Regions from separate parts of the Homo sapiens genome. Here all the other regions are linked to region 1. Evidence: promoter capture Hi-C in 16 types of primary human blood cells and fetal thymus (Javierre and others, 2016). All regions are on one chromosome and are shown on one strand. The core of a region is centred on a gene start or on the middle of the fragment in contact, and the rest is flanking DNA. Distances in the headings are between cores, read along the strand shown. Region 1 holds the start of MGAM2 (maltase-glucoamylase 2 (putative)). Region 2 has its middle 21 kb from the start of PRSS37. Region 3 has its middle 30 kb from the start of OR9A4.

What was found. The method cuts DNA at HindIII sites, captures the fragments that hold promoters and counts their contacts. A CHiCAGO score of 5 or more calls a contact.
Region 2: a contact is called between a fragment that was not itself captured here and the fragment with the promoter of MGAM2 in region 1, in 1 of 17 cell types (monocytes). The highest score is 6.2, in monocytes.
Region 3: a contact is called between a fragment that was not itself captured here and the fragment with the promoter of MGAM2 in region 1, in 1 of 17 cell types (M1 macrophages). The highest score is 5.0, in M1 macrophages.

What each region holds. Positions count from the first base shown.
Region 1 is chr7:142,109,862-142,114,727 of GRCh38, forward strand. MGAM2 (maltase-glucoamylase 2 (putative)) reads left to right here and starts at 1,857. Exons shown (of 48, transcript NM_001293626.2): 1 at 1,857-1,946. The HindIII fragment of the contact is 17,675 bases long and covers 1-4,866 here.
Region 2 is chr7:141,859,857-141,864,722 of GRCh38, forward strand. It overlaps the pseudogene OR9A3P. Among named protein-coding and RNA genes, the nearest start is that of PRSS37, 21 kb to the left of the region's middle. The HindIII fragment of the contact is 4,653 bases long and covers 1-4,377 here.
Region 3 is chr7:141,884,108-141,888,973 of GRCh38, forward strand. It overlaps the pseudogene OR9A1P. Among named protein-coding and RNA genes, the nearest start is that of OR9A4, 30 kb to the right of the region's middle. The HindIII fragment of the contact is 174 bases long and covers 1,965-2,138 here.

The sequences.
Region 1 (4,866 bases), core at 607-3,106:
TTGAAAATATCATGCCAAGTAAAAGAAGCCAGACACAGATGGCCACATATTGTATTACTGCATTTATATGAAATGTTCACAATAGGCAAATCCATAAGGACAGAAAGTAGGTTAGTGGCTGCAGAAACAGGGGGAGATGGGAATGGGGAGTGACCACTAATTATTTTTGGGGGTGGCAAAAATGTTCTGGAATTAGATAGTGGTGATAGTTTCAGAATTTTGTAAATATATTTTTAAAAACACTGAATTGTATACTTTAAAAGAGTGAATCTTATGGTTTGGAAATTATATGTCAATTTAAAAATCCACTTTAGCTGGCTTAAGAAAAATTTTAAAAAGATATTGGTGACTCATTGAAACTCCGGTAGGACTAGAGAGTCAGGTTTGTAGGCCATGTGGCTAGGGACAAGCCCCAGGTTACCCTGTAGCGGTTTCTACTGCCACTGCCCTGAGCACATATCTGGCAGCTCGCAACCCCAAATACTGAGCATAGGATGCCACTAGGTCTCTTGTCCCTGCTGCCTCTGAAACGAGCTATGCTTCCAACATCCTGGATTTTACATGGTACCTCCTTATCTACACCTTCTTCTGGATGTAAGTCACTCACAGGAATATCTCATTCACAAAGCTCCAGCCACTTGCCTCTACCTTGGATGAAAGAAAGGCTGTGAAAGAGAATTTCTAGCTGTTTCTTTGGGGAGGCAGAATTTGGAGAAAAAGTCCTTAAGTTGATTTAAGTAAGAGGTTTTCTTTTTCTTTTTAAAGAAAGATCCTCCGTTTTTAAATTTTTTTCAACTTTTATTTTAGATTCAGGGTCTAAGATTCAGGGTGCATATACAGGTTCATTTCAAGGGTATATTGTGTGATGCTGAGGTTTGGGGTGTGATTGAACCTGTCACCTAGGTAGTGAGTATAGTACCCAATAGGTAGTGTTACTACCTTTGTCTCCCTCCCCACCTCCCCCATCTTAGCAAGAGGTTTTGAAAGATGCTGAGCCATCGAAGAACATGACAAATGTCCACTAGAGGCATCTTCCCACTTTAGGTTTGTATACATTCTTTCTCTTTTATTTTTTTTGAGATGGAGTTTTGCTCTCGTTGTCCAGGCTGGAGTGCAATAGGGCAATCTCAACTCACTGCCAGCTCCACCTCCTGAGTTCAAGCGATTCTCCTGCCTCAGCCTCCTGGGTAGCTGGGATTACAGCCGCCTGCCACCATGCCTGGCTGTGCAGATGGGGTTTCACCACGTTGGCCAGGCTGGTCTCAAACTCCTGACCTCAGGTGATCCGCCCACCTCGGCCTCCCAACGTGCTGGGATTACAGGTGTGAGCCACTGCACCTGGACGGGTTTGTATAATTGCTACTTTAATGGTACTTCACTATTTAGAATAATTGGTGGAAAGGATCATTTGAATTAATGAAAAGCTGAGTTATACCAAGAGAACTCTGGAGGATGAAAATGGAGAAAAGAACAAAGTGATGAACTAAGAGCTAATCCTTCTTTCACTTACTTATTAAATAAATAGCTATATATTTAAAAAGAACTATGGATATTGGGCAGAGTGCTAAGCACAGGAGATACAACAGTGAAGAAGATAGACAAGACCCTAGCTCTTGAGCCCTTTAGGCTACATGTATAGATGAGGAAACATAACGTGACAAGTAATCAGATATGAACAGGGATACAGAAGAGGGACAATGAGTAGAAAAAAAACCACCTTCCCCTTTTATTAACAAAAGGAGCTTTCATTCTGTGTCACATGGAGAACAAGCGTTCTTTTATGACCTATTGGAATATGCACTCCCCTCCTCCAGTTGCTGTCAACTTTATAAGGCAATAAATTAATTGTGGCAGAAGCTGGCTACCTCAGCCCAGTTACCTTTGCTCAGTGCTCCCTATGAATTGCTGAGGGAGAGATACAGCATAGAAAAAAACAAGGTGATGCGGTGAGTACGCTTCTCCATGCAAGCAGGGCTTTGAACAAGGGCAGGAAGGTCCCTTTCTTTTTGTGTGATTTTCTGTCTGCTGCTCTGTTAAGTGATCTGGATGCCCATGTTTTCCTTCTGGACTTAATATTTTCTTCCTTTTCCATAAAATATGAGGAGTGAGGATGAGATAGTTGATGGAGAGGAGAGACTGTGTGTGTGTGTGTGTGTGTGTGTGTGTGTGTGTGTGTGTGTGTGGTGTCAGTGTTTGGAGGACAGGTTGGGGGAGGTCTGGTGTGAGATCCTCCTCTCTCACTGGGAGAAATTAAGGACAGAGGAAACAGATGGGATCCTTCTGGAAACTATCTCAAGATGGCATGGATTTGGAGGAAGGTGAATTCCTCCCAGCTTTGGGCAGGAAGGGTTTCTAAGTAGGCAAGAATTTCTACCTTTAGGAATCCCCATCCTGTCCTCTGCCTGAATGACAATAGCTCCTAAGGCAGGAAAATACCCAGGGTTATTCCCAGAGCGTTCCTGTACTTCCTGAGCTAAGGTGCTGAACCTGCTCCCTCAGGAGGATTGAGGAGCTGTGGAGTAGGTCCCTGCTGCTGATTTTTAGAAGCTAGAAAGAAAAAAGTCTCCCTGTGGAGAGAAATAATACTTGCAGAAAGAGACCAATTGATGAATAATGCCTTTGCTGTGGTATTGAGTTGTGGGCTGTATGTATAAGAAACGAAGTTTGATACCATAGCACTCTTAGGGTAGGTCCTTCCTACTTCTTTCTCTACCTGAAATTCCACCATTGGAGACCGATCCTCTAAGTCTTTAAGCTCTGCAGCCTAGGATACATTGTCGAGAGAGTATTCAAGTACTATTTTAAAAAGTAGCGGCTCTCGGTGTTTGTCTCAGTTCCACCACTAACCGTGACTAGACAAAATTTCTTAATATTCATCTATAAAATGGAAATCATGATATCTGTCTGATCAGCTTCAATGCAGGGATTTTATGAGAATACAGTCATATGATATATATTTTATAGGGATTAGAGTATATCTTTTAAATAATTTAGACTAAAAGAGAGACAACTGATTAATTTAGGTAAATAGTAAAGAATAGTTAATAAACCTCAATTTTAATCCCAAACCTCGTGTCTCCAAGGGCTAAGGGTTCTTCCTAAATGCCTGTTGGCAAATTACCTGTAGGTCCTAGTTCCTTACCTCTATTTCAATATTAAAGTGCTTCTTTTATGGAATTATTACACATTAACCTAAAGGCTACTGTAATTAAAAATTGAAGCTATATACCTATATAAAAATATTTGTAGAAATGGTCGTGGCATTGGGGAGGAGTTGAGAAGAGCAGGGAGGCAGGGAAATGAAAAGTAAGAGGAGATGCAAAATCAACATAAAAATAAGAGAGAGAACAGTCTTTGTCCCTGCTGACTTATATTTAATAGCTTGTTGCTGCATAAGTGCTGGTTTAGTATGGTGGGAATATGGGGAGAGGAGACGCTGAGCAGCTGGGGTTAGGACGTGCCATGAAGACCTTTGATCACAAAGCTAAAGGGTTTTTGGTTTATTCAGAGATCCATTAAAGGCTTGAATATAGGAGATCCAAATGACCCTGTTTGTGCTGGTCACTTGGGTAATGACCCAAAGATACCGGGAAAGTAGTCTGACTGAACTGTTAACTGGCTGTGAGAACTAACAGAATGAGAGGAATTAAAAAAAGATTCCTAGGTTTTTTTTTTATAATGTGATTCTATTCCTCAAGTTATTAATTATTTGAAGAACAGATAATTTGGCCAAATTGGCAGGAACTGGGAGTGAGGTGTGGGGAGAGATGATTTCATGTTTAAACATGTTAAATCTTATTGAATCTGTGGGACATCCAATAGGCAGTTGAATATATGAATCTAAATCCCTGGGCTAGAAATACAGGTTGGATTGCCATCACATGTCATATAAAGTCACATGAGTGGTGGAGATTACCCAACGTGTCTGCGTAGTTTAAAAAAGAAGCCTATACCAGAATTTGGGGGGCATCAACATTTAATGAAATAGGGCTGAGCGTGGTGCCTCACGCAGGTAATCCTAGCATTTTGGGAGGCCAAGGCGGGCGGATCACCTGAGGTTAGGAGTTCAAGACCAACCTGGCCAACATGGTGAAACCCTGTCTCTACAAAAATATAAAAATTAGCTGGGCATGATGGCGGGTGCCTGTAGTCCTAGCTACTCGCGGGGCTGAGGCGGGAGAATCACTTGAACCTGGGTGGCGGAGGTTGCGGTGAGCCGAGATCGCGCCACTGCACTCCAGCCAGGGCAACAGAGCGAGACTCCATCTCAAAAAAAGAAAGAAAGAAAGAAGGAAAGAAAGAAAGAAAGAAAGAAAGAAAGAAAGAAAGAAAGAAAGAAAGAAAGAAAGAAAGAGAGAAAGAAAGAAAGAAATAGGAGACTACAAAGAATATTGAAGATAAGCCAGAAATAGAGGTGGAAAGCCAAGATTCCTATCAAGGAATCCATATGTGGAAAGTTTCATGGAGGAGAAAGTGGTTAAGTGATTAAGACAGCGCCCATTGTATTCAGCCACTATGTCACTAGTAACCTCGGTGGGAGCATTTCCAGTGGAATGCAGAAAACACAGCCAAGCCAATAACACATGAGGAAGGGAATACAGAAAGTGTGGAACTATCGTTTTGGAAGATTGGCACTGGAAAGAAAAAGAATGTTATTATGCTACCTGCAGAAGCACACAGAGTCATTAACAGAGTTTGGGGTGACTTGGGGTATATTTATGAAGGAAAGATATTCAGAGAGTGAATTTGATAATGCAAGACAATAAGAGATAATTGGTGGAATGAAATTTTTGAGAAATTCAACAGCTGTGAGATCTAGATAACAGATACAAGGATTATGCTTAAACAAGAAGAGGAAAAACTGTT
Region 2 (4,866 bases), core at 801-3,300, 250 kb before region 1:
ACATACACATACATTCCCTTTTATATATACATGAAAGGGAATTTATTAGGGAGAATTGTCTCACATGATTACAAAGGTGAAGTCCCCAAATAGGTTGTCTCCAAGGTGGGAAATGAGAAAAGCTGGTATTGTAGCTTGGTCCCAGTTCAAAAGCCTCAAGACCAGGGAAGCTGACAGTATAGCTGCCAGTCTGAGGCAGGCTGCTGGTGCAAGCCCTAGAGTCCAAAGGCTGAAGAACTTTGGGTCTGATGTCCAAAGGCAGGAGGAAAAAAGGGATCTCACTCTAGAAGGGAGAGAGAAAAAGAGAGAGAGGAATCTAAGCAAGCTGAATGTCCCCCTTCTGCAAACTTTGTTCTAGCCTCACCCATGGCCTATTGGATGGGCCTCCTCTTCCAGTCCACTGACCTACATGTTAGTCTTTCCTGGAAACAGCCTCACAGACACTCCCAGGAGCAATGCTTCACTGTCCATCTAGGCATCTCTCAATCCAGTCAAGTTGACACCTGTGTTAACCATCACAGGGAGTGTAGTCTCTGTAGGGTTAAATGGAATTAGGGAGATACACATGAGAGAGTGCAAGACTGGCTTGACTTGTTTATAAACAGGGCTTACAGCCTAGAGGAAGACGGCCTGGGTTTTGAGAAACTCTTGATGAGGGAGATTTCAAGTTTTCCCATTACTCAAAACTTTTAAGAATTCTTAAACTTGATTAGTCTCGGGAGAGAAGAGCTGAAAGTTTCTTTGGTGTTTCCTTCAATGCATCCCTAGGGTTTCCCTGAACTAACTTTCCTTAGTGAATAATATTACTTAGGGATGCATTGCAGAGTGAAAGAAGGAGGGAAAGAGAAAGAGGGAAACAGTGGGGCATCCCATGGCATTATGATTTCTAGACTTTCTCCTCAGTGTTTGTGTGAAGTCAGTTTTCTCTTTCACTGAGAGTGAAGAAGCAGCAGCTTCCTCTGGCCCACAGAGCAATCTCAGCACTAATCAGTCAGGAGGCAGCCTGGGTCGAGTCCTAGAGAGCCATTCAACTTTTCACTTCAGGGTATTTCTCTGGAGATGAGTGTTTTCCAGGAGTTCTGCTCTGTGAAGGAGAAACTAGGAGAGGCTCAGAATAGAACGTTCTGGGCCTGTTTGCCCTCTAGGATGAGGACACTCAGATTTTATTAAAGAGTAATAGGCTCATCTTCAAATTCTTCTTGCATAGCAGAAAGCACTTTCAACTATTCTCTGACTCAGTGCTTGACATAGGCACAGGTCATTGCTATTGTTAGAACCATCATCTCTCCTTTCTTTTTACTGGGTCCCACGTAAGCAGAGATTGTGGGAATTCGGACTGAGTTCTTCTATCGAGTTGATCCTTGTTACCCAAATATCATTTTACAAGAGGTCTCAGAGAGAGGACTGAATGATGACTGGGCACTGTGTCAGTGAAGACAGAAGGGAGAGAAAGCAGCTGCTTCAACATTGGCCATAGCCAAGTGTGCATAGGCTCTGACCATAGATTCATCCTTTAATTGATGAATTCATTTAATTCATTCAGAAATAATACTAGATCATGAGACACAATGAACAAGAATGACAATCTTCTTGCTTTCATGGTGCTTACATTGTAAAATGAATGACAAAATAAACAAAACGTAAACATACAATTTCAAGTGATGAAGGCTAAAGAGAAAAGTAGATCTCAGTGAGGAGATAGCGAGTGAAGGATAGTATGTGTTTTTTTAGACAGAATGATGAGGACAGTTTCCCTGAACTTGGACACTTAAGCAAAGACCTGAAGGAAGTAAGGGATAAAGCCCAGAAATTCTAAGGTACTCAGGAAATGGGGTCTATTTTACGTTAGTGACAGCTGACTTTTTAATTTCTGGTATGATTTTGGGAGAAAAATGTGATTATATAAGGAACATTGAGGATACATCCCAACCTTTCTAATAGAATGAGACCATAGCCTCGATATTTAGGACCTGGGCTGAACCTGGAAGTCACACTTGGTGGCTTTGAGCTCTCCTAGAGGCAAGGTCTGTAGACCTAAATCCTTTTGTTTGCCAGTCCGAGTATGAGGTCAAAGTGGGACAGAGAGAGGCTGAGGATAAAAGTTCCTCCTTTATATTCTGTCTGAATCTTTCTTCTCTCGCAATGATGAAAAGAGTTGTCAGAGTCTTAGAGAGAGATGGCCAGGTTCAACTCAGGCCAGGTGTGGTTTGTCAGCCTTCTGTGAGAAGACACATTCACTGAGGACAAAAGTAAGGGAGGCTTTCATCCCCAAGATAGGAAGGAAGAAAGGAGTAATCCATGCAGGGAACCAGCTGACCAGTAGATTGAGAGATCCTCAGTCCTTGCCCTTGAAAATTTACAGATACTCCTCAGGAGGAGACTTCCATACCCTCACTCTCACCAACACACAGCAATAATGATGAAGGTAAAGCAAAAGTTTTAAAATAAACATCCTGTAAATGGAACCTACATTCTGATGAAACAAAGAAATCGAGTAACCAGCTCAGGGGCGTTGGCAGGGAAACTTTTGTATAGAACATGATACTGGAGCAGGAATTTACAGGATAGAAAATACTTGGCAGACAGAGTAGTTTAGGACCTTCCAGGTGGAAGGGAGTTAGTGGTAGAAATGAACACACTGTGGTCCTGGAGGCTGACTGCTGGCTGTTCAGAGCAGAGAGGGAGGCAGGTGAAGTGAGCATTGGGGGTGCAATGGTGCATGCTGGGCAGGGTATAGGCTCTCATGTCTAAGGTATGGCACTGGGGACTGGGATCATCTTCATGACCAACTCAATTTTCCTCACACATTGTACATATTTAGAAAAATTGCCACTGACCATATACAGGAATAGTAGAAGACAAATGCCTACCATTCTAGTCATGGTGTGTGGCCTGTGAACAGGAGGGGGATTGCAGAACAGTTTCTAATTCTGTTAAGATGAGAAGCCGTATTAACTCTCTTTTGTTTTCTAGATTTCATGAGTTAAAAGCACTCAGAAGTAAATGTTGGGGAATTACTCTAGCGCCACTGAATTTTTTCTCTTAGGCTTCCCTGGCTCCCAAGAAGTACGCCGTATCCTTTTTGTGAACTTCTTCTTCTTGTACGCAGTGACAGTGATGGGAAACACGGTCATCATCGTCACTGTCTGTGTTGATAAACATCTGCAGTCCCCCATGTATTTTTTCCTGGGCCACCTCTGTGTCCTGGAGATCCTGATCACATCCACCGCTGCCCCTTTTATGCTGGGGGGTTGCTGCTTCCAAGCACCCAGATCATGTCTTTGACAGCCTGTGCTGCACAGCTATATACCTTTCTTTGGGTACCTCGGAGTTGGCATTAATGGGAGTGATGGCTGTGGACCATTATGTGGCTGTGTGTAACCCTTTGAGGTACAACATCATTATGAACAGCAGCACATGTGTCTGGATGGTCATTGTATCATGGGTGTTTGGGTTCCTTTTTCAAATCTGGCCAGTTTATGCCACTTTTCAGCTTACTTTCTGCAAATCAAATGTGTTAGATCATTTTTACTGTGACTGAGGACAATTGCTCAAGGTATCCTGTGAGGACACTCTTTTCACAGAGTTTATTCTTTTTCTAATGGCTGTTTTCATTATCATTGGTTCTTTTGATCCCTACGATTGTCTCCTACACCTACATCATCTCCACCATCCTCAAGATCCCGTTAGCCTCTGGCTGGAGGAAATCCTTTTCCACTTGTGCCTCCCACTTCACCTGTGTTGTGATCGGCTACAGCAGCTGCTTGTTTCTCTACACGAAACCCAAGCAAACACAGGCAGCCAAGTATAACCGGATAGCGTCACTGCTGGTTTTAGTGGTGACCCCTTTTCTGAACCCTTTCATCTTCACCCTGAGGAATGACAAATTCATACAGGCCTTTGGAGATGGCATGAAACACTGCTATCAACTCCTCAGAATTTAGCTCTGTCCTGGGGACAATCCTTATCATGGACTTCAGTAATCTGAAGGTACTAATTTAAATCTAAAATGACAGTTTTCATCATCAAATAGTTTGTAATCTACAAAGAACATTTAGGGCATAGACAGTGCTTCAATTCATTATTGGGTGACTTCATTAAAAAGAATAAATACATCAATTTATTCTTTTTAATGTATATAAATACATGTCCCAAAATAAATATGACAAGTGTAAACATCTGAAATACATGAAGATTTTAGAACTCTCAGACTGTGAATGGGAAAAGCAAGAAATGTGATTTATCTGATGTCTGCTGTACTAATTTGATTCTAGATGCCAGAATTATCTTCCCCTTTATTGCCTTATGGTTTCATGGTGTGTTCTCATCGTGTAAGCCTCACTATTGTGTCTCTCAGTGACCTGTGGTCCACCCTCAAGCTTTCAATGTAGTTCCTGCCTCCAATATTCAATGGTGATAGTAACTTTCTATGGGTTTTCTGACTGGAAGTTGTGACAGTGAACTCACTCCCCCATACTGACTGCTTAGCAATCTTCAGAATGAATGTGTTTTGATACAGGTTTAACCCTAATTTGTGCACCTTCTTAGCCATAGATGAAAGGTTTTAGAAAGAAACATTTTTTTTTACCTAACGTCGCCAACATCAAATGAGGGAGCGCAATGGAGGTATGTTCTGGAAGGCGATGTGATAAGGGATAGATGGCTTTGCGGTGTCCTTGGGCTGAGGGTGGATTGGAGAGAGGGCAGAGGGACAGGTGGCCTGTGGCCCCTTTTTCTGTCTCACACATTCTTCAATCTTGACATGGTACATTCACCCTCCATGTTCCCTTTGCTATCCCACTTCCTGCTCAGTTTCTTTATTAATTTCATTTATTCTCTCTCTCTCTGTTAGTACCAGATTCATCT
Region 3 (4,866 bases), core at 802-3,301, 230 kb before region 1:
GGTAAAACCCTGTCTGTACTAACAATACAAAAATTAGCCGGGCGTGGTGGCGTGTGCCTGTAGTCCCAGCTGCTCAGGAGGCTGAGGCAGGAGAAGCACTTGAACCGGGGAGGCGGAGGTTGTAGTGAGCCAAGACTGCACCACTGCACTCTAGCCTGGGTGACAGAGTGGGACTCTGTCTCAAAATAAATAAATAAATAAATAAATTTAGAAAAGCACAGGGGGCTGACTCGAACAGTTTGATGCTAACCTGGATTCAATGTGTAGCAAAAAGAAACCTGGATGTTGGGACACTCTTGATGAGGAAGATTTTAACTTTGCTCATTATACCAAACTTCTAGGAGTTCTAAATCTTGATTAGCCTCAGGAGGGAAGATCTGAAACTTCCTTTGTTTTCTCCTTCCCTGCATCCCTAGGGTTTTTCTGAACTAACTTTCCTCAATGAATAACATTCCTTAGAGACACGTTGAAGAAGAAAAGACAGAGGGAGAGAGAAAGAGAGAAACTGTGGGGCATTCCATGGCACTATGATTTCTGGACCTTTTCCTAAATACATATGTGAAGACAGTTTTCTCGTTCACCGAGAGGGAGGAAGTCGTAGCTTCTTCTGGGCCACAGAGCAGTCTCAGCACTAATCAGGCATGATGTAGTCTGGGTTGAGACTTAGAGTCATATGGCTTTTCACTTCAATTTCTTTGAAGGTAAGTGAATTCCAGCAGTTTCCATCTGTGTAGAAAAGAGTGAGAGAGGTTCAGGATGGAAAGTTTTAGACCTGCCAACTTTCTAGAGCAAGGGCATTCAGACCCTAATGGGTAAGCTATGAGAGAGGCAAAGGAGATTGGCTCATCTCCAAATTCCCCCTGTACAGTAGAGAGCACTTTCACTTCTTCTCTGATTCATTGCTGGATGCAGTACAACTCCTTGCTATTGTCAAAACCATCCTTGACATCATCTCTACTTTCTTTTCATCTGGTTCTGGGTAAAGAGAGATTGTGGAAATCACTCTACTGAGCTCTTCCGTCAAGTCTGTACTTGTTACCCAACTGCCATTTTATAAGGGGTCTCAGAGAGAGGACTGAATTATGACTGATCACTGTCTCAGTGAAGACAGAAGGGAGAGAAAGCAGTTTCTTTTAGCATTGGCTATAGCCTGATTTGGAGGGGCTTTGTTCACAGATTCATTCTTTAATTGATCAATTCATTGATTCACTCAAAAGTAGTACCACCTCATTCTGTATGAGATATAGTGAATAAAAATTACAATCTTTTTGCTTTCGTGGTGCTTACATTGTAAAATGAGTCAGAAAATAAAAAGTAAACATATAATTTCTCATGATGAGCGCTAAAAAGATAAATATATTCTGATGAGGTGATAGAGAGTGAAGGGTTGTGTGTGTTCTTTTAGACAGAATGAAGAGAAAATTTGAACTCAGATACTTGACCAAAAACCTGAAAGAAGTGATAAATAAAGCCCAGGAATTCTAAGTTACTCAGGATGCAGGGTCTGTTTCATGTGAGTGACAGTGGAATCTTCAATTTCTAATATGATTTTGGGAGAGGAATGTGTTCATAGAAGAAATATAGGCCCTGAGGTGACTTCCTAAATTTACTGTTAGACCGAGACCAAAGCCATCTGTATTTAGGACATGGGCTGAACCCAGATGTCACACTTGGTGGTTTTGGTCTCCTGATGGATCCAGGGCTTTGGATTATCCTGAAGCCAGAGGATGTTGAAATGGGACTAAAGTCTCCTATTTGTCAGAGCCAGCATAAGTTCAGTGTGGGACAGTTAGAGTCTGAGGATAAAAGTTTTTCCTCTGTATTTCGCCTGAATTTTCTTTCTCTAAGAACAGTGGAAAGAGTTGTCAGAGTCTTAGAGAGAGATGGTCAGGCTCAACTCAGCCCAGGTGCTGGTTGCCTGCCTTCTGTGAGAAGACACATTTACTGAGGACAGGAGCAAGGGAAGCTTTCTTCCCAAGATAGGGAGGAAGAAAGGAGTAATCCATGCAGGGAACCAGCTGACTAGTAGATTGAGAGATACTCAGTCCTTGCCCTCGAGAATTTATAGAAACTCCTCAGGAAACTTCCCTACCCTCACTCTCACCAACGCACAGCAATGATGATGAAGGTAAGGCAGAAGCTTTAAAATAAACATCCTGTAAATGGAACCTACATTCTGATGAAACAAAGAAATCAAGTAGCCAGCTCAGGGGTGTTGGCCAGGAAAACTTTTGTATAGAACATGATACTGGAGCAGGAATTTACAGGACAGAAAATACTTGGCAGACAGAGTAGTTTAGGACCTTCCAGGTGGAAGGGAGTTAGTGGTAGAAATGAATACACTGTGGTCCTGGAGGCTGACTGCTGGCTGTTCAGAGCAGAGTGGGAGGCAGGTAAACTGAGCATTGAGGGTGCAATGGTGCATGCTGGGCAGGGTATAGGCTCTCATGTCTAAGGTATGGCACTGGGGACTGGGATCATCTTCTTGGCCAACTCAATTTTCTTGGCATATTGTGCATAGTTAGAAAAATTGCCCCTAAACCAGGCGTGGCAGCTCACACCTATAATCCCAGCACTTTGGGAGGCCGAAACGGGTGGATCACCTGAGGTCACGAGTTTGAGACTAGCCTGGCCAACATGGTGAAACCCCATCTCTACTAATAATACAAAAAAATTAGCTGGGTATGGTGGCACATGCTTGTAATCTCAGCTAGCCGGGAGGCTGAGGCAGGAGAATCTCTTGAACCTAGGAGGTTACAGTGGAGGTTACAGTGAGTTGAGATCATGCTATTGCACTCCAGCCTGGGTGACAAGAGTGAAACTCCATCTCAAAAAAAAAAGAAAAGAAAAGAAAAGAAAAATCGCGCCTGACCATATACAGGGAATAGTAGAAGACAAATGCCTACCATTCTAGTCATGCTGTGCAGCCTGTGAGCAGGAGGGGGATTTCAGAACAGTTTCTACTTCTGTTGCGATGAGAAGCCATATTAACTCTTTTTTTTTTCTCTAGATTTCAGAAGGGAAAAGCACTCAGAAGTAAATGTTGGGGAATTACTCTAGCGCCACTGAATTTTTTCTCTTAGGCTTCCCTGGCTCCCAAGAAGTATGCCGTATCCTATTTGCGACCTTCTTCCTCTTGTATGCAGTGACAGTGATGGGAAACGTGGTCATCATCATCACTGTCTGTGTTGATAAATGTCTGCAGTCCCCCATTTATTTTTTCCTGGGCCACCTCTGTGTCCTGGAGATCCTGATCACATCCACCGCTGTCCCTTTTATGCTCTGGGGGTTGCTGCTTCCAAGCACCCAGATCATGTCTTTGACAGCCTGTGCTGCACAGCTATATTTATACCTTTCTTTGGGTACCTTGGAGTTGGCATTAATGGGAGTGATGGCTGTGGACCGTTATGTGGCTGTGTGTAACCCTTTGAGGTACAACATCATTATGAACAGCAGCACCTTCATTTGGGTGATAATTGTGTCATGGGTTTTGGGGTTTCTTTCTGAAATCTGGCCAGTTTATGCCACTTTTCAGCTTACTTTCTGCAAATCAAGTGTGTTAGATCATTTTTATTGTGACCGAGGACAATTGCTCAAGGTATCCTGTGAGGACACTCTTTTCAGAGAGTTTATTCTTTTTCTAATGGCTGTTTTCATTATCATTGGTTCTTTGATCCCTACGATTGTCTCCTACACCTACATCATCTCCACCAACCTCAAGATTCCGTCAGCCTCTGGCTGGAGGAAATCCTTTTCCACCTGTGCCTCCCACTTCACCTATGTTGTGATTGGCTATGGCAGCTGCTTGTTTCTCTACGTGAAACCCAAGTAAACGCAGGCAGCCGAGTATAACAGGGTAGTGTCACTGCTGGTTTTAGTGGTGACCCCTTTTCTGAACCCTTTTATCTTCACCCTGAGGAATGACAAATTCATACAGGCCTTTGGAGATGGCATGAAACACTGCTATAAACTCCTTAAAAATTAAGTCTGTCCTGAGTACAGTTCAAATCCTCATCATGGATTTGAGTAATCTGATAGTACTAATTGAAACAAAATGATCATTCTCAAAATCAAACAGCTCATGATCTACAATGGATATTTAAGCTATGACATGGCTTCATTTTGTATTAAATTCTTTTAATACATCGTTTAAAAAATAAATAGATGTATACATTTATTAGCCCTCTGTACTTATAATGCATGTTGCAAAATAAATGTGAGAAGTGTAAACATCTGAAAGATGTTCAATGTTTTGAACCCTTGGTCCTGATAATGGGAAAAACAAGAGAAGTGTGATATATTTTCTTTCTTTCTTTGTTTCTTTTCTTTTCTTTTTTTTTTTTTTGAGAGAGAGTCTCGCTCTGTCGCCCAGACTGGAGTGCAGTGGCTTGATCTTGGCTCAGTGCAAGCTCTGCCTCCTGGGTTCACACCATTCTCCTGCCTCAGCCTCCCAAGTAGCTGGGACTACAGGCGCCCTCCTCCACGCTCGGCTAATTTTTTTGTATTTTTTAGTAGAGATGGGGTTTCCCTGTGTTAGCCAAGATGGTCTCGATCTCCTGACCTTGTGATTGGCCCGCCTCGGCCTCCCAAAGTGCTGGGATTACAGGCGTGAGCCACTGCGCCCGGCCAAGTGTGATATATTTTCTTACCTCTGACATATTTGATCCTATGTGCCGAGATTATCTTCCTCTACATTGCCACGTGGTTTCAAGGTGTTGTCTTATTGTGTAAACTCACTAGCACTTCCCTGAGTAATCTCAGGGCCAGCACAAGCTTCAAACTTTCGTCGTTGATTCCTGCTTGCAGTGTCCAATAGCGATAGTGCCTTTCTTTGGGTTTTCCGATTGGCATTTGTGAGAGTGAACT